Regions from separate parts of the Homo sapiens genome. Here regions 1, 2, 3, 4, 5 and 6 are each linked to region 7. Evidence: promoter capture Hi-C in 16 types of primary human blood cells and fetal thymus (Javierre and others, 2016). All regions are on one chromosome and are shown on one strand. The core of a region is centred on a gene start or on the middle of the fragment in contact, and the rest is flanking DNA. Distances in the headings are between cores, read along the strand shown. Region 1 has its middle 34 kb from the start of NGRN. Region 2 overlaps CRTC3-AS1 (CRTC3 antisense RNA 1). Region 3 has its middle 27 kb from the start of ZNF774. Region 4 overlaps BLM (BLM RecQ like helicase). Region 5 overlaps ZNF774 (zinc finger protein 774). Region 6 overlaps BLM (BLM RecQ like helicase). Region 7 holds the start of CRTC3 (CREB regulated transcription coactivator 3).

The links. The method cuts DNA at HindIII sites, captures the fragments that hold promoters and counts their contacts. A CHiCAGO score of 5 or more calls a contact.
Region 1: a contact is called between a fragment that was not itself captured here and the fragment with the promoter of CRTC3 in region 7, in 4 of 17 cell types (activated CD4 T cells, erythroblasts, endothelial precursors and 1 more). The highest score is 6.9, in activated CD4 T cells.
Region 2: a contact is called between a fragment that was not itself captured here and the fragment with the promoter of CRTC3 in region 7, in 1 of 17 cell types (activated CD4 T cells). The highest score is 6.4, in activated CD4 T cells.
Region 3: a fragment that was not itself captured here is called in contact with the fragment with the promoter of CRTC3 in region 7 in 15 of 17 cell types (activated CD4 T cells, naive CD8 T cells, total B cells and 12 more); the score reaches 11.7 in activated CD4 T cells.
Region 4: a contact is called between a fragment that was not itself captured here and the fragment with the promoter of CRTC3 in region 7, in 3 of 17 cell types (naive B cells, total B cells and activated CD4 T cells). The highest score is 7.2, in naive B cells.
Region 5: a fragment that was not itself captured here is called in contact with the fragment with the promoter of CRTC3 in region 7 in 6 of 17 cell types (total B cells, activated CD4 T cells, non-activated CD4 T cells and 3 more); the score reaches 8.1 in total B cells.
Region 6: a contact is called between a fragment that was not itself captured here and the fragment with the promoter of CRTC3 in region 7, in 1 of 17 cell types (total B cells). The highest score is 5.3, in total B cells.

Annotation. Positions count from the first base shown.
Region 1 is chr15:90,297,677-90,300,807 of GRCh38, reverse strand. It overlaps the pseudogene GOLGA2P8. Among named protein-coding and RNA genes, the nearest start is that of NGRN, 34 kb to the right of the region's middle. RefSeq lists an enhancer at 1-150 and a silencer at 495-687. The HindIII fragment of the contact is 8,093 bases long and covers 1-3,131 here.
Region 2 is chr15:90,711,676-90,714,927 of GRCh38, reverse strand. It overlaps CRTC3-AS1 (CRTC3 antisense RNA 1), which reads left to right. Exons shown (of 4, transcript NR_120372.1): 2 at 1,629-1,761. Among named protein-coding and RNA genes, the nearest start is that of CRTC3-AS1, 3.8 kb to the left of the region's middle. The HindIII fragment of the contact is 3,528 bases long and covers 197-3,252 here.
Region 3 is chr15:90,324,240-90,327,312 of GRCh38, reverse strand. No RefSeq gene overlaps it. Among named protein-coding and RNA genes, the nearest start is that of ZNF774, 27 kb to the left of the region's middle. The HindIII fragment of the contact is 8,593 bases long and covers 1-3,073 here.
Region 4 is chr15:90,734,187-90,737,392 of GRCh38, reverse strand. All of the region lies in intron 1 of BLM (BLM RecQ like helicase), which reads right to left. Among named protein-coding and RNA genes, the nearest start is that of BLM, 18 kb to the right of the region's middle. The HindIII fragment of the contact is 647 bases long and covers 1,289-1,935 here.
Region 5 is chr15:90,359,170-90,362,171 of GRCh38, reverse strand. It overlaps ZNF774 (zinc finger protein 774), which reads right to left. Exons shown (of 4, transcript NM_001004309.3): 4 at 1-2,129. The coding sequence ends at 889. Among named protein-coding and RNA genes, the nearest start is that of ZNF774, 8.4 kb to the right of the region's middle. The HindIII fragment of the contact is 336 bases long and covers 1,531-1,866 here.
Region 6 is chr15:90,771,603-90,774,852 of GRCh38, reverse strand. The region is part of intron 12 of BLM (BLM RecQ like helicase); the gene reads right to left. Among named protein-coding and RNA genes, the nearest start is that of BLM, 56 kb to the right of the region's middle. The HindIII fragment of the contact is 5,454 bases long and covers 1-3,250 here.
Region 7 is chr15:90,528,567-90,531,872 of GRCh38, reverse strand. It overlaps CRTC3 (CREB regulated transcription coactivator 3), which reads right to left and starts at 1,950. Exons shown (of 15, transcript NM_022769.5): 1 at 1,670-1,950. The coding sequence starts at 1,801. RefSeq lists an enhancer at 847-1,006 and silencers at 1,397-1,576, 1,597-2,346, 2,447-2,496. The HindIII fragment of the contact is 15,096 bases long and covers 1-3,306 here.

The DNA of each region.
Region 1 (3,131 bases), core at 514-3,013, 230 kb after region 7:
CCACTAGGTACTATACAGGGGCGGCCCTACCCCCCAGAATATATAAAACGTTACACAGACACAATGTGTACATGGGGGAAGGGGGGCCACCCTCAGCAGCTCATGCCCTTGCCTGGTCTACAGTTAGCCCCACTGTCCCGCCTCAGCTGCCTCTCTGACTAAGAAGACGGGAGCCTGAGGGAAAAATTGCTTTGGTGAAAGTAAGGAGGCCATGAGGCCTCCTCCGAACAAACCAACTCCCATCAGCCTCTGCCTCTTAAATAACAATCATCATCATCCAGAAATTTAAGGACTCAGCCCTGGCCAGGGTGGCAAAGGGTCTGTTTGTCTCTCCCTATTAGACAGGGGTCTTGTCTTGCTACTCTAATGGTAAAGGGGTGACTGGGAAGGGGTGGCAGGGACATGGTGGGGGTGGAGCCTCTGGCCCCACTTCTCCAGGCTTTGCTGACAGGGGCCTGCTTTTGTTTTTATTTTTATCCCATGACTTTTTTTAATCACGTTTTTTCTGTAACTTTTTTTTTTTTTTTTTTTTTGAGATGGAGTCTTGCTCTGTTGCCCAGGCTGGAGTACAGTGGTGCCATCTGGGCTCACTGCAACCTCTGCCTTTCGGGTTCAAGCAATTCTCCTGCCTCAGCCTCCCGAATAGCTGGGATTACAGGCGCCCGCCACCACACCTGGCTAATTTTTTGTATTTTTAGTAGAGACAGGGTTTCACCATGTTGGCCAGGCTGGTCTTGAACTCCTGACCTCAGGTGATCTGCCCGCCTCAGCCTCCCAAAGTACTGGGATCCCAAAGTGGGTGGATCACCTGAGATAGGGAGTTTGAGACCAGCCTGACCAACATGGAGAAACCCATCTCTACTAAAAATACAAAATTAGCCAGGCGTGGTGGTGAATGCCTGTAATCCCAGCTACTTAGGAGGCTGAGGCAGGAGAATCTCTTGAACCTGGGAGGTGGAGGTTCCGGTGAGCTGAGATTGTGCCATTGCACTCCGGCCTGGGCAACAAGAACAAAACTCCGTCTCAAAAAAATAAAAATAAAAAAGTTTTGGAAATAAGTTGTGGGAAAAAAGTTATGGAAAAAGTTATGGAAAAATATTCCAAAAAAAGTTTTACGAAAAAAAGTTATGTGATAAATATTAAATAAATAAAAGCAGGCCACTTTCAGCAAAGCCTGGAGAAGTGTCTGATGGGGGAGACAGGTGAAGATGAGATGAAGATCGCGGTCATCCAAAAGCAGGGAACTAGGCCCAGGGCGGTAGCTCACACCTGTAAGCCCAGTGAGCCACTGACCATAACATTTTTTATCCCGTAACTTTTTTATCCCATAACGTAACTTTATCCCATAACTTTTTAATCTCATAACTTTTTAAATCTCATAACTTTTTTTAATCTCCTAACTTTTTAAAATCCCATAACTATTTTTTCAGTATGTGTTCTTTTGGTAAACACTTGCAGCCGGGCGCGGTGGCTCACGCCTGTAATCCCAGCACTTTGGGAGGCTGAGGTGGGCAGATCACGAGGTCAGGAGTTTGAGACCAGCCTGGCCAACATAGTGAAACCCCCATCTCTACTAAAAATACAAAAATTAGCTGGGCATGGTGGCGTGCACCTGTAGTCCCAGCTACTCGGGAGGCTGAGGCAGGAGAACTGCTTGAAACCAGGAGGTGGAGGTTGCAGTGAGCCGAGATCGTGCCACTGCACTCTGGCCTGGGCAACAGAGTGAAATTCCATCTCAAAATAAATAAATTAATTAATTAGTTAAATGCTTGCATAGTCATATTACAATTTTGTAAAAATAAAAACACTATTTCATGCCAAGCATGCCTGGCATTTGCACAATCTCAATACCTTTAATACTATAGTTTTCAAGACACACAAAATAAAAATTTAAGGCAAAAACAGCACTTTGCAACAATAATTTATTACATACAGTAGCATCACAGCAGTATTCAATAATGCCACTTTAGGCAAAAGTCTTTCAGTATTTCCATTATAGATTCTGTTTACAAGAATTCCTAAATTGGTAAGTCATTATAAGAAAACTTGGCAAATAAAGTTTTGGACTGGAATTGGCATTTCTTTCTTTACTTTTCCTTCCCCTAGTTTCTTTCTTTTAAGCTACAGTATTCATATTTTAAAATGTTTTAATTTATTTCAAAACATTAAAATAGCAGTTACATTTTTTAATAGTTATACTATTGTAAAATGACTAAGAAAGTTTTAGAGAAACTATATTCTGGATAAGGCTGATTTACATTTTCAAATTTTCTAGAAATCAGCTTTGGTTTTAACATTAGTTTTTCAGTTCTGGAAAACCTATTAGTATTAATCAAATACTTCAAAATGATTATCATATACTGCAACCTTTAAATAAACAAGTATTTTGATTCTTTACCTCCTACAGAAATTCAAATTTATTCGGTTGAACTCACATTTTAAAATTCTATGTTTCCATGAACTCTAACCTTCTAATGTTGCCTGCTAAGCAAATTGAAAGCTGTCTTATACTGAATGAGAAAGAGAACAAATATCTGGCTGAATGAGGTATTGCAAAAGACTGCATGCCCTTTGAAGAAAGACTTAAGTTATTATAATATGATTTCCATCCTTGTTAGCTTTTTCTTAAATATATGACAAAAATACCTACACAAAAAGTAGTATCTCAGTTAATATAGTAAATTTATTTCCAGACAGACATTCAGCTTAAGTATGCCGGTATGTGAGTTAATCCAGAGGTACCTGATGAACACATTATTGTCAGATTGATTACAGATGCTAAACGCTATCCGAAGGTCATTCCTAGTCATTTACATTTATCAATGTAAAAGTGAAGTGATTTGAACTATTAAAATACCTTTGAAATAATTTATCAATGTATCAGATAAACCCAGTTTCAGAATGATAAAGAAAAACTGTTAGACCAAATAATGTGGCTAATTGACAGTGGTACGATTTCTAGCCCGAGGGTTTAAAATGGACTTAAAGTAACTGTCTTTAAACTGAACTCAAAGAATGCAAAAGCAGCAAGTTCAGAAAATAAAAGGCAACAACAGGACCTTAAGTCCATTTTAAACCCTCGGGCTAGAAATCGTACCACTGTTAATTAGCCACATTATTTGGTCTAACAG
Region 2 (3,252 bases), core at 711-3,210, 180 kb before region 7:
ACTACAGGTACGTGCCACCACGCCTGGCTAATTTATTGTATTTTTAGTAGAGATGGGGTTTCACCATGTGGTCCAGGCTGGTCATGAACTTCTGACCTCAGGTGATCTGCCTGCCTTGGCCTCCCAAAGTACTGGGATTACAGGCTTGAGCCACCATGCCTGGCCCCAGTAATCTGTTTTAGACCATTTCAAAGCTTTTCTCAGTTTTTTTCTGTATTACAAAGTAATAGGAGGATGAACTACTGGTACATACAATATAGATGAAGCTCAGACACTATGCTGAGCACAAAAAGAGGTAGATAAAAGAGTATATAGGGCCGGGCGCAGTGGCTCACGCCTGTAATCCCAGCACTTTGGGAGGCCGAGGTGGGTGGATCACGAGGTCAGGAGATTTGAGACCATCCTGGCTAACACGGTGAAACCCTGTCTCTACTAAAAAATACAAAAAAATCAGTCAGGCATGGTGGCGGACGCCTGTAGTCCCAGCTACTCAGGAGGCTGAGGCAGGAGAATGGTGTGAACCTGGGAGGCGGAGCTTGCAGTGAGCCGAGATCACGCCACTGCACTCCAGCCTGGGCGACAGAGCAAGACTCCATCTCAAAAAAAAAAGAGAAAAAGAGTATATAGTGCATACCAGGTTACCCCTGGAGGCAGAGGTAGATGAGGAAGCTCCCAAGGAAATCTTATGGAGTGCTGGAAATTACATATCTGTCTTATATAGACATTTAATATAGATAAAGTAATATATAAATCATTTATATATAAAATCATTATATACATACAATCATTGAGATATGTATTTTTTCAATTTTTTAAAATTTATTTTTATTTTTTGAGACAGGGTCTGCCTCTGTTGCCCAGACTGGAATGCAGTGGTGCCATCTTGGCTCAGTGCAACCTCCACCTCCCAGGCTCAAGTAATTCACCCACCTCAGCCTCCTGAGTAGCTAGGACCACAGGCACATGCCACCACGCCTGGGTAATTTTTGTATTTTTAGTAGAAATGGGGTTTTGCCATGTTGCCCAGGCTGGTCTCAAACTCCTGGCCTTAGGCGATCTGCCAGCCTCAGCCTCCAAAAGTGCTGGGATTACAGCCGTGAGCCTCCTTGCCTGGCCAAGGTATATATTTAAGATTAAGATGAGTGCACAAGCCTTTCACCACCCTACGCTAACATCTACCTTCCAGGTGGGAGGTAAAGGTTGCAGTGAGCTGAGATCACACCACTGCACTCCACCCTGGGCAGCAGTGAGAATCTGTCTCAAAAAAAAAAAAAACACAGAATCCTTCCAGCAGCTCCCATTTGCCTTCAAGGTGAATACCAAACTCCGATTGAGTCCCTGCTTCCTCTCATATGTCATCTGTCCCTCATCCCCATTTTCCTGTCATTTCCTCAAGGTGTTTTATAGTCTTTCCAGTTTCCTGGCCTTTGCCTCCAAATCATACCTCTCATTCATCTCTCAGGTCTCAGGACAACTTCTCTGCAAGTTGTTGGAGAAGTTGGGAAGTTGGAAAGCCTTACCTAATCCTCCAAATCTGCCTGTGTATCCCTCCTAGGTTTTCCCATAACAGCAGTCAGCATTTGTATTGGTTGTGTTGATACTATTAGTGTGCCTGTCTTCCTCTACAGAATATGCTCTCCATGAGGGTGTTCTTCAGGGCCTACCACAATGGCTGGCACTAGAGAAGGGCACAAAATTGAAGAACAGTGAAGACAAAAGCAATAAGATGATTAAGGCCATGTGAGACAGCAACAATATCAGGTGAATGTCACCCTTTATCGAGTTGTGAGTATCCAGCCTCTCACTTTGGGGGATACTGTTTGAGCCTAAGTAACATTAGTGGCTTTATTCATTTGGTAGATTGTTTGTATCTTTGCGTTGTCTCTATCCTGCTTTTTCCTTGGCCATTTTGCTATTAAAAATCTGTTGATTTACTCTGCATTTTCCCATAGAGAAGGGTAGCCTGAGGAGTTATTTAACAATGATGTGTTTTGGCCAGGCGCGGTGGCTCATGCCTGTAATCCCAGCACTTTGGGAGGCCGAGGCAGGCAGATCACGAGGTCAGGACATTGAGACCATCGTGGCTAACATGGTGAAACGCCGTCTCTACTAAAAATACAAAAATTAGCCAGGTGTCATGGCACACGCCTGTAGTCCCAGCTACTCGGGAGGCTGAGGCAGGAGAATGGCATGAACCTGGGAGGTGGAGCTTGCAGTGAGCCGAGATCGCGCCACTGCACTCCAGCCTGGGGCACAGAGCGAGACTCCGTCTCAAAAAAAAAAAAAAAAAAAAAAGGTGTGTTTTGTTTTTGCAACAAGTAAAAATTGACATATTTCACCCACATGTTCATTAACAGATGAATGAATAAACAAAATGTGGTATATCTAATAAGCTGGGCACAGTGGCCCACACCTGTAATCCCAGCAGTTTGGGAGGCTGAGGTGGGTGGATCACTTGAAGTCAGGAGTTCCAGACCAGCCTGGCCAACATAGTGAAACCCTGTCTCTACTAAAAATACAAAAAAGTTAGCCGGGCATGGTGGCGTGTTCCTGTAACCCCAGCTACTCGGGAGGCTGAGGCAGGAGAATTGCTTGAACCTGGCAGGTGGAGGTTGTAGTGAGCCAAGATCGTGCCACTGCACTCCAGCCTGGGCAACAGAGCGAGGCTCCATCTCAAAAAAAAAAAAAAAAAAAGTAGTATATCCATACAGTGGAGTATCATTCGGCCATGAAAAGGAGTGAAGCTCTGACACATGCTACAACATTCTGAGTCAAATATGCCAACACAAAAAAACAAATACGATCTGACTCCATTTATATGAAAGATTTTGAATAGGCAAATTCATAGAGACAGAAAGTAGATTAGAGGTTTCAGGAACTGAGAGTAGGAAGGAGGGAAGAATGAGGAATTATTGCTTACTGGGTTCATAGTTTCCATTTGGGGGGATGAAAAAGTTTAGAAATTGTGGCAATGGCTGTACAGCATTTTGAATGTAATTAATGCCATTGAGTTCTACTCATAAAAAGGTTAAAATGGCAGTTTATTTCATACATATTTTACCACACACACAAAAAGCAGTTGCTGTGGAAAAAAAAAACACACACACAACATATTTTACACACACACAAAAGCTCCAATCAAAACAGAAATAGATTTTCAGTTTTTCTTAAAAAAGAGGAAAGAAGAAAGGGAGGGAGGGTGTGAGGGAAGGAGAGAAGGAGGGAAGGAAGGAGAGAGGGAAGAAGAGAGGA
Region 3 (3,073 bases), core at 556-3,055, 200 kb after region 7:
TGCAGCCTTGACCTCCCAGGTTCAAGTTATCCTCCCACCTCAGTTTCTGGAATACCTGGGATTACAAGCGTGTGCCACCATGCCTGACTATTTTATTTTATTTTATTCTATTTTATTTTATTTTTGGAGAGAGAGGGTCTCACTATGTTGCTCAGGCTAGCGTCAAACTGCTGGGCTCAAGCAATCCTCCCACCTCGGCCTCCCAAAGTGCTGGGATTACAGGTGTGAGCCACTATGCCTGGCCTCTAAGATTTTAACTACTCTAAGTACCTCATATAAGCTGACTCGTACAGTATTTGTCTTTGTCTGACTGGCTTATTTCACTTATAATGTTCTCAGATTTCACCTGTCTCAAAAAATAAAATAAAATAATATTGATTGAGACTTAATTTGTAGCCTGACCTACCAACACCTGCCTCACGCACAGCACGCCCATCTAGATTTCAATTGTAGTTGCTATGCGTATGGTGGCTCAGTTCAGCTGGGCTCAATTCCTGGTGCTGATTGTAATGCTACTTTGGGAAGCTAAGGAAGGGGGATTGCTTGAACCCAGGAGTCAAGGCTGTAGTGAGCCATGATTGTGCCACTGCACTCCAGCCTGGGTGACAGAGCAAGACCTTGTTTCAAAAAAAAAAAAAAAGGAAGAAATGATTACAACCATCGATTAGTCATTAGTGCCATGCCTTAGCTGAGAACTTCTTCTCTGGGCCATTCTGCAGCCCTCTGGAATGGCTTTAGGACCTGGCTACCAGGCTCCCCTTATCCCAGTGTCTTGCTCTCATCCTCAGTGGCTTCAGCATACTTATTTATTTTATTATTTTTTTTGGTGGGGGGACGGAGTTTCGCTATTGTCGCCCAGGCTGGAGTCCAATGGCACGATCTCAGCTTGCTGCAACCTCCGTGTCCCGGGTTCAAGTGATTCTCCTGCCTCAGCCCCCTGAGTAGTTGGGATTATAGGTGCCCGCCACACACCCAGCTAATTTTTTGTATTTTTAGTAGAGATGGGGTTTCACCACGTTGGCCAGGCTGGTCTAGAACTCCTGACCTCAAGTGATCCACCTGCCGTGGCCTCCTGAAGTGCTGGGATTACAGGTGTGAGCCACCGTGCCCGGCCTCATCCTTATTAATTACAGCACCACCACCTGTGCTCATGGTCCCTTTACCTCCTCTGCTCCAGTAACCTCGAAAGGCCAGCCACATCACAGAGCTGCTTCCATTTCAGCCTCTCAACTCCATCTCTCCTTTTCCCTTAGAATAACTGGGGCTGCCCATTATCCTTGCCACAGCCTCCTCTGCTTCCTTGCTTATTGTTCCTTTTCTACCTCCTCCCTCAGTCTGGACTCCACGGTCGGCTCTTCAACCATGTTCCTGCTAGTGGCTTACGGTTCCTGTTCTCCAACTTTCTAATCTACCTACTGTGTCATCCCCAAGCAGGGGATTCCCTGCCATCTACTTCTGCAACTCTCAGGCTGGCAGAAGTGGCCTCCATGCTGCCCAGTCAGAAGGGCCTGTGTGGCCAACACAGCTGCCGCCCCAGTTCCATCCTTCATTCTCTTTCCTTCCAGTTGTCCAGGCCTTGCCATCTGACTGGCCTGGAGAGTAGGGAAGAGATGGGGAAAACAAAGGAGGGGTGCAAACATCTGGAGCTCAGTGCCCTGGTCTGCTCAGCCTGGGGGAGATTCTCCTCCCTCCTCTTCCTCCCCTGCTCTGTTCCTTCACCTTCTTCCGCCTTGAGGACTCCCTGATTCCCTTATATATCCATGAAAACTTTTACATCACTAAATAAATTGCCTTTTTTTTTTTAAATGAAGTCTCTCTCTGTTGCCCAGGCTGAAGGGCAGTGGCATGATCTCGGCTCACTGCAACCTCCGCCTCTTGGGTTCAAGTGATTCTCCCACCTCAACCTCCCGAGTAGCTGGGATTACAGGCGTGCGCTACCATGCCTGGTTGACTTTTTTTTTTTTTTTTTTTTTTTGGATTTTTAGTAGAAACAGGGTTTTACCATGTTGGCCAGTCTGGTCTCAAACTCTTGACCTCAAGAGATCTGCCCACCTGGGCCTCCCAAAGTGCTGGGATTACAGGTGTGAGCCACCATGCCCCAGTGAAATTGCTTAATTTCACAAACATTTTGAGAGTCAACTGGGAACTGTCAACCTAGAAGGAAGCTGAAGCAAAATTAATATAAGTAGAGAATTTATCTGGGGCTGGGCATAGTGGTACACTCCTGTAATCGAGGATTCTGGGAGGCTGAGTTGGGAGGATTGCTTGCCAGGAGTTTGAGAACAGCCTGGGCAGCATAGTGAAACCCCATCTGTACAAAAAATTTAAAAATTAGCCAGGCATGGTGGCTCATGTCTGTAGTCCCAGCTACTCAGGAGGCTGAAGCAGGAGGATTGCTTGAGCCCAGGAGTTCGAGGTTATGGTGAGCTAAGATCCTGCCACTGCACTCCAGTCTGGGCAACAGGAGCAAGACCTTTTCTCTTAAAAAAAAATAAATAACAATAGTAAGACAGAGGATCTATTTGGGCCAAGCTAGATATTGCAAACTGGGAGCATAGAGTCAAGTTACCCTCAGTATACATCCTGATTAGCAGCAGTTGTGAGGCAGGAGGCAGGCCTGTACTCCAGGCCAGATTGAAGACTAGCTGAAACAGGGAAGAGGGGAAAGCACCTCTCCATAACACATGCCCACCAGTGCCATGTCAGTTTACCAGTGCCCTGGCAACACCCAGAAGTTACTGCCCCTTTCCATGGCAACAACCTGGGAGTTATACCCTTTTCCTAGAAATTTCTGAAAAACCCATCCCTTAATTTGCATGTAATTAAAAGTGGGTATAAATATGACTGTGGAACTGCCCCTTAGCTGCTACTCTCCACACACTGACTATGGGCTAGCTCTTCCTGCAGGAGCAGTTACAGAGCGGTAACACTGCTGCCTCAATAAAACTGGTTTTGGTGGCGGGGCGTGGTGGCTCACACCTGTAATCCCAGCACTTTGGGAGGCCGAGGTGGGTGAATCACCTGAGGTCAGGAGTTCAAGACAAGCCTGACCAACATGGTGAAAATACAAAAT
Region 4 (3,206 bases), core at 363-2,862, 210 kb before region 7:
TTGCATATCATTGCTCCTAGGCCCTTTTAGTAGACAGATCTAGGAAATATAAACACTTCTATCTATTTCTGTATCTACAGCTATACATCCATTGATCTATCCATCTATCTTAAAATTCATAGAAAAAACCATCATATATTTATTCATTTATTCAATCTGAAACTATAGGAAGTAATTTCAAATTGCTACACTCCTGTCACTAAAAAAAAAAAACCTACTAAGAAGAGTTCAAAATTCAGTTGCATTTCTTTCTTCAGATTAAGGGTACATAATTAAAGTACTATATTCAAAAGTTACTTGATTGGTCAGTCCCACCTCACCTTCAGGGTGATTACATTCATCATTTGAATTAGATTAGTTTGTGTTTGTACTGTTCTTGTGGATTTGATTTTTGAATATATAAAACATTTACATAGTTCTAAAAGTTAAAACTACATAAAAGACTGTTTTTCCCCACAGAGAAGTGTTCTTCCCTCTCCATCCTTTGCCATCTACTTCCTGTGGGTTATCAATTTCAATAATTTCTGATTTATCTTTCCTGTTTTTCTTTTTGCAAAATAAGCAGACATTAGAGTCTCATATTTTCCCTTCTTTCTTACATAAAAAATAGCACACTGTATGTACGCTTTCCATTCATGTTAGAAATCACTCTACACCCGTTTGCAAAGATTTTCCTCATTCTTCTTTACAGCTGTACAGTACTCCATTGTGTAGATATTTACCAACAAATTTCCTGTATGGACATTTAAGGTATTCCCTGATATTTTACAATTACAAATAATGCTGCAACAAATAACTTTGTGCATTCATATTTCCCTACTGTTGAAAACGTAAGGCCGGGCACGGTGGCTCACACCTGTCATCCCAGCAATTTGGGAGGCAGAGACAGGATTGCTTGAGTCCAGGAGTTCAAGACCAGCCTGGGCAACATGGTGAGACTCCGTCTCTATAAAAAAAATTTTTAAATTAGTAAGGCGTGGTGGCATGCACTTGTGGTCCCAGCTACTCCAGAGGCCAAGGTGGGATCAATTGAGCCTGGGAGTTTGAGCTGCAGTGAGCCAAGATCACACTACTGCACTTCAGCCTGGGCAACAAGCAAGACCCTGTCTCAAAAAAAAAGGAAAGAAAGAAAAGAAAATGTATCTTTAGGGAATATTTCTACAAGTGGAATGGCTGGGTCAAAGGGCAAATGCATGTGTAGTCTGCTGGATTGCCAACTTCTCCCTCAAAGGAGGTTTTACAAGTTTGCATTCCTCACAGCCTCACCAATGGGGCTTCTTGTGAAGCTTTCTAATTAGTGCAGAGCTGATAGGTGAGAAACGGTATTTCAGTGCAGCTTTAAATTTACACTTCCTGTTTAGGTGAAATTGAATATTTTCTTCACATATTTAAGGATGGTTTTTGAATCTTTTTAAAAAATTGTATCTGCTCATGTATTCTGCCTTTTTAACCAAATTTTAGTATTTTTTTCTCTCAATTTAGACTAGGGATAGTAGGTCTTTAAAATGTATTTTGCAGATTTTTTTCCTGGTTTCTCATCTATCTTTTAAATTTGCTTATGGTGTTTTTCATTTTTGTAATCAAGAATTTGCTTTTCAATGTAGCCAATTTTTCCCCCTCTTTTATTGCCCTTCTCCACATCCAGGTTACAGAAAACTCATCTATGTATTCTTCTAGTAGGTAATTTAAAAAAAATTAGATTTCTGGTTCATTTGGAGTTTATTCCTGTGTCTGATATAAAGTATAGATATAATTTTGTTTTTTCAAGTGGCTAACAAGTTGTCCCAGCACTATTTATAAAGAGTCCATCTCTGCCCTAATAATTTCAGAACTACCTTTATCATACACTAAATTCTTCATGTGTTTAGGAGACTAATTATTGACTTTCCATTCTATACCATTGGTCTATACCACAATATTATCATGATAGAAGCTTTGCAACATGTTACAATATCTGGAAGTCTACTTTCTCTTTGTAGCTCTTCTGTTTTCCTATTCTTATATGTTTATTTTTCTATATGAACTTTAGAATCAACTTGTCTAGTGCCAGAACTCTGTTGATATTTATATTGAGATTGCATTAAATTTATATATTAACTTAGGTATATGTATTAACTTAAATATATATATATATATATATATATATATATATATATTAACTTAGGCACTTTTATGATGTTGTTGTCCTGTCCTAGAACAAAAGATTTCATTTGTTTAAGGCTATTTTTGTTATTCAGAAGTGTTTTAAAGATTTCTTCACCTAGGTTTTACATGTTTTTAAATTCCTAAATATTTTCTCTTTTTCTTGTTGCTGTAAATGGGATTTTACCCTTCATTATATATTCAAACTTGTTGTGTATATGAAGACTACTGATTTTTGCATATTCTTATAAAATTCCTTTTCTGTTTAGTTAGTTTCATTATTGATTTTCTGCAGTATTCCAGACACACTACCATATCACCTGCAAGTAGGGACAATATTACTTTTTATTTTCCAAATCTTGTGCCTCTAATTGATTTATCTAACTGCATTGGCTAAGCCCCCAGTACAATGTTAAATACAAGTGGAGTTGGTGAGTATCTCTATATTTTTCTCAATCTTAGTAAAAATGCCTCTAGTATTTTCCTATTAGATAAAATACAGGATTTAGGAATAAAGTCTCTCTCTCTCTCTCTCTCTCTCTCTCTCTCTCTCTGCGTGTGTGTGTGTGTGTGTGCGTGCGTGCGCGCGTGTGTGTGTATGTGTGCGTGAGAGACAGAGACAGAGAGAGAGAGAGAGAATACCATCATTAAGAAGTATTGATTGGCCAGGCATGGTGGCTCACATCTGTAATCCCAGCATTTTGGGAGGCCGAGGTGGGCAGATCACCTGAGGTCAGGACTTTGAGACCAGCCTGGCCAAGATGGTGAAACCGCATCTCTACTAAAAATACAAAAATTAGCCAGGTGTGGTGGTGGGCGCCTGTAATCCCAGCGACTTGGGAGGCTGAGGCAGGAGAATGGCTTGAACCTGGGAGGTGGAGGTTGCAGTGAGCTGAGGTCATGCTACTGTACTTCAGCCTGGGCGACAGGGTGAGACTCCATCTCAAAAAAAAAAAAAGAAGTATTGATTACAATATAATTTCTTAAGAGTTTTTACTATATATTGGTGTTGAATCTTGTCAAAGGCTTTTTCAGCATATATAAAAGTAAATATATGACTGTTC
Region 5 (3,002 bases), core at 449-2,948, 170 kb after region 7:
TGGCAGTGCATTTCCATTTTATTCAATTTGTGTATTCCAACCCCAAACCTTCTAGTTCCAATCTAATTTCTTTCACGTTCTGAGTTTGGGGCGGGGGGACTACACTAATAAATTTCTAATTGAGTAATAAGACTGATAAAAGCCACCAATCTTGTACTGAGTGTCTTTTAAGGGCCAGGTACTGCATTAAAGCCTTTATATAAGACCTCAACTATTAATCATTAATAATGATGGGACCATTTAGTTATTGAGCATCTATGTTGTGCCAGGCACTGTACTAGGTGGTGAACATGTGATCTCTAGGCCACATTTTTCTCACTTCTCATTTAGTAACTAGGCATCAACTTTTTAATTTTTTTGGAGACAGAGTCTCTCTCTGTTGCCCAGGCTGGAGTGCAGTGGCATGATCTCAACTCACTGCAACCTGCACCTTCTGAGTTCAAATGATTCTTCTGCCTCGGCCTCCCGAGTAGCTGGGACTACAGGCACGTGCCACCATGCCCAGCTAATTTTTGCATTTTTAGTAGAGATGAGGTTTCACCATGCTCACCAGGCTGGTCTCAACTCCTGACCTCAAGTGATCCACCCACCTTGGCCTCCCAAAAGTGCTGGGATTACAGGGGTGAGCCACCACGCCTGGCGGGCATCAACTATTAAACTCACATTTCCCTAAGAGTCAGTCACACACTGAAGGAATGCCTTTTGTATTCGGACCGTTATTTGGACCCTTTAAGTTTATCCTCTCTGTTATAACATAGACAAGAAAGAGGGAGAATAGATCAGGGCCCAAATTGAGCCACTGACGCCCAGGTTTTCTCTATTTGGGGTGCTTGAAGACAGTAGCAATGAAAATGTGCAAGGGAGCAGCTGAACACCAAAGACTACTTCCTAAATCAAATGGGTGTTTTGATGGCATAAAAGATGCGCTTTCTGACGGAAGCTCTTGTTACATTTACTACAGTGGAAAGGTTTTTCTCCTGTATGCGTTCTCTGGTGTGTGAGGAAATGGGAACGCTGATTGAAGGTCTTGCCACACTCAGGACATCGATAGGGCCTGTCTCCTAAGTGGATTCGCTGATGGGTAATAAAGTGGGAGCTCTGATTGAAGCTCTTCCCACACTCTCCACATTTGTAGGGTCTTTCTCCGGTGTGGATTCGTTGGTGCTTAATGAGGGCGGAGCTGTCGGCGAATCCTTTCCCACAGTTTTCGCACTTAAAAGGTCTCTCACCTGTGTGTGTTCTTTGGTGCGTGACCAAATGTGAGCTCTGACTGAAGCTTTTGTGGCAGTCAGGACAACTGAAAGGCCTCTCTCCTGAATGAGTGCTCATGTGAGCTACAAAATGAGAACTATCTCTGAAGCCCTTCCCGCACTCCGGGCATTTGAAGGGCCGTTCTCCCGTGTGGGTTCGTTGGTGCTTAATCAAATCCGAGCTCTGGCTAAAACTCTCCCCACAGTCATTACACCTGTAAGGCTTCACCCCTGTGTGGGTCCTCTGGTGAGTGATGAAATTTGAGCTTCGACTGAAGCTTTTGTGACATTCCAGGCACGCGTAGGGCTTCTCGCCTGTGTGGGTTCTTTGGTGCATTATGAGGTGTGGCTTCCGCCCAAAAGTCTTTCCACACTCTGGGCACTCATAGGGTCTCTCCCCTGTGTGGGTTCTCTGATGTTTGATGAGTGTTGAGCTGTCGCTGAATTTCTTCTCACACCCCTTGCATTGGTAGGGCTTCTCTCCTGTGTGTGTTCTGCGATGGGTGACAAGGTCTGAGCTCTGTTTGAAGCCTTTCCCACACTCAATGCACGTATAGGGCCTCTCGCCAGTGTGGGTTCTTAGGTGTCTTATGAGATAGGAACTCTGGTTAAAGCTTTTCCCGCATTCTGCACACATAGGCTTCTCTCCTACATATCCATCCAGGAGCTTGTTTAAATCCCTCTCCTGTGAAAAGGACTCCAGCTGGCCCTCTCCTGGAAGGGTTCCATGTTGCCCTTCTAATTCTAGGCCTTGCTCCCAGTTTCCTCCCCAACTAAGAGTATGAGAAAGATCTTTATTGGTCCTTTCTGAGGATGTTCCACATTGTTCTGCTGTTTCAGAATTGTCCTGATTGAGCTTTGCCACCTGATGCTCACAGTCTGAAAAATTAATGTAAGTAACAGAGAATAAAGTTATCAGTTATCAGGAAGGAATATCAGAAAGCAGTGACAAAGATTAAAATCCCTGTTTCTGCAGCAGACTGCACTTAATTCAACCGCTCTGTTTTCACTTTGTGAAAAGTTTATTGAGGTTCATTGAGCTGTCAGAACACGTGAATTCCTAAACTTTTTAAATTTTAAGATGGCCAGATGAATCTTGATATCCTTCAAGCGGAGACCACATATTGTCAATATTGTGCGGTTTCTTTAGAAGATATTATAGGTTTAGGCCAGGCGTGGTGGCTCACGCCTATAATCCCAGCACTTCGGGAGGCCGAGGCAGGCAGATCACTTGAGGTTGGGAGTTCGAGACCAACCTGGCCAACGTGGTGAAACTCCATCCCTACTAAAAATATGAAAATTAGCTGGGCGTGGTGGCGGGTGCCTATAGTCCCAGCTACTTGGGAGGCTGAGGCAGGACAATCACTTGAACCCGGGAGGCGGAGGTTGCAGTGAGCAGAGATTGTGTCACTGCACTCCAGGCTGGGAGACAGAGGGAGACTCCATCTCAAAAAAAAACATAGGTTAGACAAAAGTGAAATGCTTAATCAAAATGAAGACTTTATTTAGTCAACTACTGACCATTAAGTCAAATTTAAATGTCTGCTAGTGGCCGGGCGCGGTGGCTCACGCCTGTAATCCCAGCACTTTGGGAGGCCGAGGCGGGTGGATCATGAGGTCAGGAGATCGAGACCATCCTGGCTAACAAGGTGAAACCCCGTCTCTACTAAAAATACAAAAAATTAGCCGGGCGCGGTGGCGGGCGCCTGTAGTCCCAGCTACTCGGGAGGCTGAGGCAGGAGAATGGCGTGA
Region 6 (3,250 bases), core at 1-2,500, 240 kb before region 7:
TTCACCATTCCTTGGGCCTGACCTGTACTTTTTTTTTTTTTTTTTGGCTGGAGTGTAGTGGCATGATCTCGGCTCACTGCAACCTCCACTTTCTGGTTTCAAGCAATTCTCCTGTCTCAGCCTCCCGAGTAGCTGCGACTATAGGTGCATGCCACCACGCCCGGCTAATTTTTGTATTTTTAGTAGAGATGGGGTTTCACCATGTTGGCCAGGCTGGTCTCCAACTCCTGACCTCAGGTGATCCACCCGCCTCGGCCACCCAAAGTGCTGGGATTACAGGCATGAGCCACCGAGCCTGGCCTGACCTGTACTTTTATAACAGAAACTTCAGCCCTGAATTTTCACTCTTTGCCTGCTAAAATGCCGTTCACCTACCACTTCATATAGCTGTAATAAAAAAAGACAGTAACAAGTGTTGATAAGCATGTGGAAAAACTGCAACCCCCACACACTGCTGAAGGTAATATAAAATGATGGAGGCGGTCGGGTGCAGTGGCTCACACCTATAAGCCCAGCACTTTGGGAGGTCGAGATGGGTGGATCACCTGAGGTCAGGAGTTTGAGAACAGCCTGGCCAACATGGTGAAACCCCATCTCTACTAAAAATACAAAATTAGAAAAATACAAAAATACAAAAATAGTCCCAGCTACTTGGGAGGCTGAGGCAGGAGAATCGCTTGAACCCAGGAGGTGGAGGTTGTAGTGAGCCGAGATTGCACCACTGCACTCCAGCCTGGGTGACAGAGTGAGACTCCGCCTCAAAAAAAAAAAAAAAAAAAAAAAAAAGACGGAGGCACTTTGAAAACTAGTTTAGTAGTCCTTGAATTGAAAAGGTTAATCATACAGTTACCACAGACCCAGCAACCCAAGAGAAATAAAACTGATGACCACAGAACAACTTCTACACAAATGTTCACAGCAGCATTATTCAAAAAAACCAAAACACTGAAACAGCTTGAACATCCATCAAATGATGAATGGGCAAATAAAACAGAAAGTAGGATCCATAAAATGGAATATTATCTGAAAATAGAAAGGAATGAAATACTGAAAACAGGCTACAACATGGAGGAACCTTAAAAACATGCTCAGTGAAAGAAGTCAGTCACAAAAGGCCACATGTTATGTGATTCCATTTATATGAAATGTCCAGAATAGGCGCAAACCTACAGAGACAGAAAGTAGATGAGGGGTTGCCTAAGAATGGGGAAAGTGAGAAAGTAGGAATTGACTGCTAATGGGTATACTCTCCCTTTCAACAGAGACAAAAATGTTCTAAAATTAGATAATGGTGATGGCTGCACAACCTTATAAACTAAAAAAAAAAAAAAAAAAAAAAAAGGCCATTGAAGTGTCAACTTTAGGTGAATTTTATGGTATGTAAATTTTATTTCAATACAGCTGTTTAAGCCTTTTTTTGTTTGTTTGTTTTTCAGATGGAGTCTCGCTCTATCACCCAGGCTGGAGTGCAGTCGTATGATCTTGGATCACTGCAACCTCCGCCTCCCAGGTACAACCAATTTTCCTGTCTCAGCCTTTCAAGTAGCTGGTATTACAGGCGCCCACCACCACACCTGGTTAATTTTTATATTTTTAGTAGAGATGGGGTTTCAACATGTTGGCCAGGCTGGTCTTCAACTCCTGACCTCAGGTGATCCGTCTCCCTTGGCCTCCCAAAGTGCTGGGATTACAGCTGTGAGCCACTGCGCTCGGCTGCTGTCTACGCTTTTATCTTTTTTTTTTTTTTTTTTTTTTTTGAGACAGTCTCGCTCTTGTTGCCCAGGCTGGGGTGCAGTGGTGCAATCTCGGCTCCCTGCAACCTCCGCCTCCCGGGTTCAAGTGATTCTCCTGCCTCAGCTTCCCCAGTAGCTGGGATTACAGGTATGCACCACCAGGCCCGGCTAGTTTTGTATTTTTAGTAGAGACGGGGTTTCTCCTTGTTGGTCAGTCTGGTCTTGAACTCGTGACCTCAGGTGATCCGCCCACCTTGGCCTCCCAAAGTGCTGGGATTACAGGCGTGAGTCACCATGCCCAACCTATGCTTTTAAATAAACTACTCCTCCTACAATGCCCAGTGCCTTTACAAAACTTGATCTGACCCCTCCTTGTAACAGCTGTTACTGGGGGTTCTAGCTTATCTTGTCTTCTTCAGTTCCTGCAGCTGTAATTTACATCTCAAATCACTGCTTTCTTCTTTCTGCAATTTGACCTAGTATTTAAAGGATTCTGAAACCAGCTATCTGGTGTTTTAAGTTCTCACTCCAACCCTTGCTAGGCATATGAAGTTATATAATCTCTTTGTGTCTCAATTTCCTCACCTGTAGAATGAGGAAAATAGGAGTACCTACCTTGCTTTTGTGTGGACAAGGAGGTAAATACACTTAAAATGACAACAGTGCCTGGCACACTGAGTAGGCTGGATATGTAAGTGTTAGCTATTATTATTGTTCTATTATAGTTAACTCTATGTGCCTGTCTCTTTGCTCTCTTCCAGTTCATATTTTAAGGCCCTAAGGAAATGGAATAAAGCCTTTTTTGTGTGCCTTATATTTCCCAAAGAGGAAGAATATTATTACAGACTGGCGGGAGGAGAGCAGCACAGGGGCTGTGGCTTCAACCTTAGGAATACCTGACTTCGCCAGGGCCACGACATAGCAGCAGTTGAGCAAATTTAATCCAAACCAGGGCCTACTGGCAGAAAAGATCAGGAAACAGAGTCCCAGAAAGTATTCCTTAAAATTTCCTACTTCCAAATGCAGAGAAGTGCCAAACACATTAAGGAGTCAACAGACATGCCTACATTTTTACATTTACCCAAATTCCTTCACATTTTTCATTTATTGATTATTACTGAGTGCCAATTATGTACCAAGTGCTGGAGACTGGAAATCCACAACCTTGCTTTCCCAGGCAGATCTCTTCCCCACAGTACTAAGAAAACAGATTCAAGGTGCCTGCCTCTAAATAAATAAATAAATATGTACACTGTTTACTCAAACATAAATCACAAATCCTATACTTACAAAAAGTCATTCAAAAGGAAAAGAAATTTTTTTTATCATTTAACTATAGGCATTTGCCATTGATGTAACTGATCTAAAAGAACAGTAGATTGCATCCGGCGTAAGAGGACAGAAGAATCTCAGCACTTAGGAAGGCTGAGATGGGAGGACTGTTTAAGCCCAGGAGTTCGAGACCAGCTTGGGTAACATGGCAACATGGTAAGACCTGTCTCCAAAAAAAAAAAAAA
Region 7 (3,306 bases), core at 701-3,200:
GGATATTTTAAAGAAGATTCATGAATTGGGTGAAAGATTGGATCCGCCATAGGTATACAGACATATACAGTGCATGTATTTGTACATAAACAATGTACAGTATGTATTTAAAAACACATAACAACACAGGCCCCAACACTAATCCTCAGCTTTCACCCACCCATTCTTTTCAACGTGCTCTGAGCTTATCGAGTTCATCTCTGAATCTAACCAAGGTCACAGATGTAAATGCCAGTGGATGCCAGGCAGGTAAAAAATGAGTGAAGCTGATAGGGTATAAGAAAACATTTTCTTGAAATCTTCAGCTTCTTTCTCTCTATATATATATTTTTTCTCAATGTGAACAGAAATGTAAGTACAGGAAATATTTCACTTTTTCCTTAACTTCACTGAAAGAAAACACCATCATGAGTATAAATGGCAACTGTCACCTAATCTCCCCTTGGGGGACTGTGACAGAGAGTGGACGGTGGCAAACTAGAGTTCTTACTCCATTTGAAAGGGAGCTCAGCTCAGCTCCCTTTCATCATCACCCAGCTCCAGCAGGTCGGTAGCTGTCATGTAGGAATTCAGAATTAGTGTTACCAGGTCTCCCAATTTTTAACATATATAAATAATAATAAATAAATAATACGGAAATTTGGATTTTGTGTGGAAGTCTTCCAATTTAAAAATTCTGGCAACAGATTCAATAATTTTTCCCAAACACTGCGCTGGCCAAAAAATAATGTGTCTGCAACTCAGCTGGTTTGCAACTCTGCTCTCAGCTCTCCTTCAAACTGTCTCCCCCGCCTCAGTCCCCCAGAATCTGCAGATCCTCCCCCATCCTCCCGATGGTCCTCCAAGGTCAGCATTCAGGATCCTCAAGGCCAGCCCCACTCCTGCTGACCCCCCTTCTCTGCAACCCTGCGCGGACACTCCGGTTGGCTCTCCATCCTCCACTGCCTCACTCAGCGGTTACCTAACCTCTCCAGGTGTTTGTCCCGGCTCGCGCCTTACTCATTCCTCCAGGTCCCTCTCCAGTCACCAGCGACGCTTGTCAGTTCTCACTAAATATCCCGGGCCGAACAAAGTAAACTGGACCCGATAAAGCACCTCCAAGGAGTAAAAGGAGCAGAGCCTCACACTCGACACGGAATCCCGTCGTGGTTCCAACAACCCGAGCCACCCCAGGGCCGGGCCCTGGATGGACTTGTGCACAGAGCTCCCCCCACGAGCGCGTGGGACCCTGGGGTGCCCGCGGCCTTCCACGCCGGCAGAACAGCAGGGCTCGATGGTGGGGGATGTTCGGAGCGACCAGAAGCCGCGCCGCGCCACCCGGCCGGCCTCCGAGCTGTTTGCGATTTCCTCTCGGGGCTCCTCGTCCTCCTCCCCCTCAGGCCGCCCTCGCACGGCCGCCCGCCTCCACGGGCTTCACCCCTGCCCATCTTCCCGCACACGGGGCCGGGCGACCCTCCCACCTCAGCCCGGGATCGCGAACGGCTAGCGGGTGTCGCCAGGCGGGGAAACGCCGAGGCCGCGGCCGCTCCGGTCCCCCTCCCAGCCGCCGGTTCCCGGGCGCGGCCCCCGCCCGGCCCCGCCATCGCCTTGGCCCCGCAACCTCTCACCCGCCGCGCGGGTCCCGCCCGCGGCCGTGGCCGCCCCCGCCCGCGCCGGCCCGGGCCCTCACCCGCGACAGGGTGAGGTCGGTCATGAGCTGCTCGAAGGCCCGCGTCTCCTCGGCCTGTCTCTGCGTGTGCAGCGCGATCTTCTCACTGAACTTCCGCGGGTTGGCGCTGCCCGAGCCCGGCGAGGCGGCCATGGCGCGGACTCTGCGCGGGCAGAAGCGGGAGACGGCGGCCGTGGGGCCTGTACCTCGGCCCACCCGTCCGTCCACAGGCCGCCGGGGCCGCCGCCCGAAGCCAGTCGTCCGGCGCGACCCGGCAGAGGAGCCGCCGCGGCCCCGGAGCCAGCGAGCGGCCGGGAGCGCGCCGAGGTCCGCCCCCGTGCGCCCGGCCCCGCCCCACCCTCGGCGGGGCCCGCCCGGCCTCCAGTCTGCCCCGGCCCCACGCTCGCGGGCTGAGGGCTGCTCCCCGCTTCCCGGTCTGGCTCGGGACCCGCCGCCGGCGGCCACCTGGAGGGACCCCCGTCAGCCCGACAAAGTGGCCCCGGCGTACGGGGAACGCTGGGGTGCCACTCCACGGAGACTCTCCGACCCAGGGATGGCCTCTGCGTCTACGCGACGTGGAGAACACAGCCTGTGCCCGCATCCCCCCTCCCCCAGCCAAATTACGAAGATTTTCTTCTCCAGGTGGAACCTGGGCGACCGGACCTCGAGCAGGTCACCTCGGGCCCCCGCAGGGGGTGCGCCCATTTTGCCTGGGGCCTAACGTCTGCCCGCCAGCCCTGCCGCTCCAGGCCCCCGGCCTCCAGCCGCTGGTTTCCTGACCTCTCACACCCACCCCTCCCCGCTCCAGTCAACCAGAGCTGTATCTCGGCTTTAAAAACTGCCTCCTATTCTGCACAAACTACAAACACCATCCAGCCCTGCTGCAGCCTTGGCTCCATAGCCCCGGCCCCCTTTCCAGGTTCTTTCCAAGTCTCCCTACGGCCTCTCCACTCCTGTGGCAGCTTCAGCAGGTGCCAGCCCCACCTTGGGAAACCAGCGCTCAGCCTCAGCGAATTTCCCCTTCTTTTGGGGGAGTGAATGGATGTCTTTCTCTGTCGCCCGGTCTGGAGTGTAGTGGTGCGATCTCGACTCACCGCGGCCTTGACCTCCCGGGCTCAAAAGATCCTCCCACCTCAGCCTCCCGACCAGCTGGGACCACAGGCGGGGGTCACCACGCCCGGCTAGTTTGTAAATGTTTTTGTAGCAATGGGGGGCGGGGGTGGGTCTCGCTATTTTGCCCAGGCTGGTCTCGAACGCCTGGGCTCAAGCGATCTGCCCACCTCAGCCTCCCAAAGTGCTGGGATAACAGGCGTGGGCCACAGTGCCCGGGGAGTTTCCTCTTTGGAGTCCAGAAGCTACTCTCAGCATAAATGTTGATGTGCACAAAGATGTCCCGGGGAGCCCTGAGCGTGTGTCAGTGTTCTGTAAAGAGGGAAATATTAGAGGCCTACGGAAGAGTACGGAAAATAATATTAATACTACCCACGCCCCCCACTATCAAGATTAAACAGACATCAATACATTTTGCTGCATGTACTTGGGATTTATTAAAGACATACAAAATTAGTCATAACGACGGCCCCACTCTCATTTCTTCTTCCGCCCCACAGATAGTCACCGTGCTCAAGTTGGTACATATCATTCCAGTTTGTGTTTTT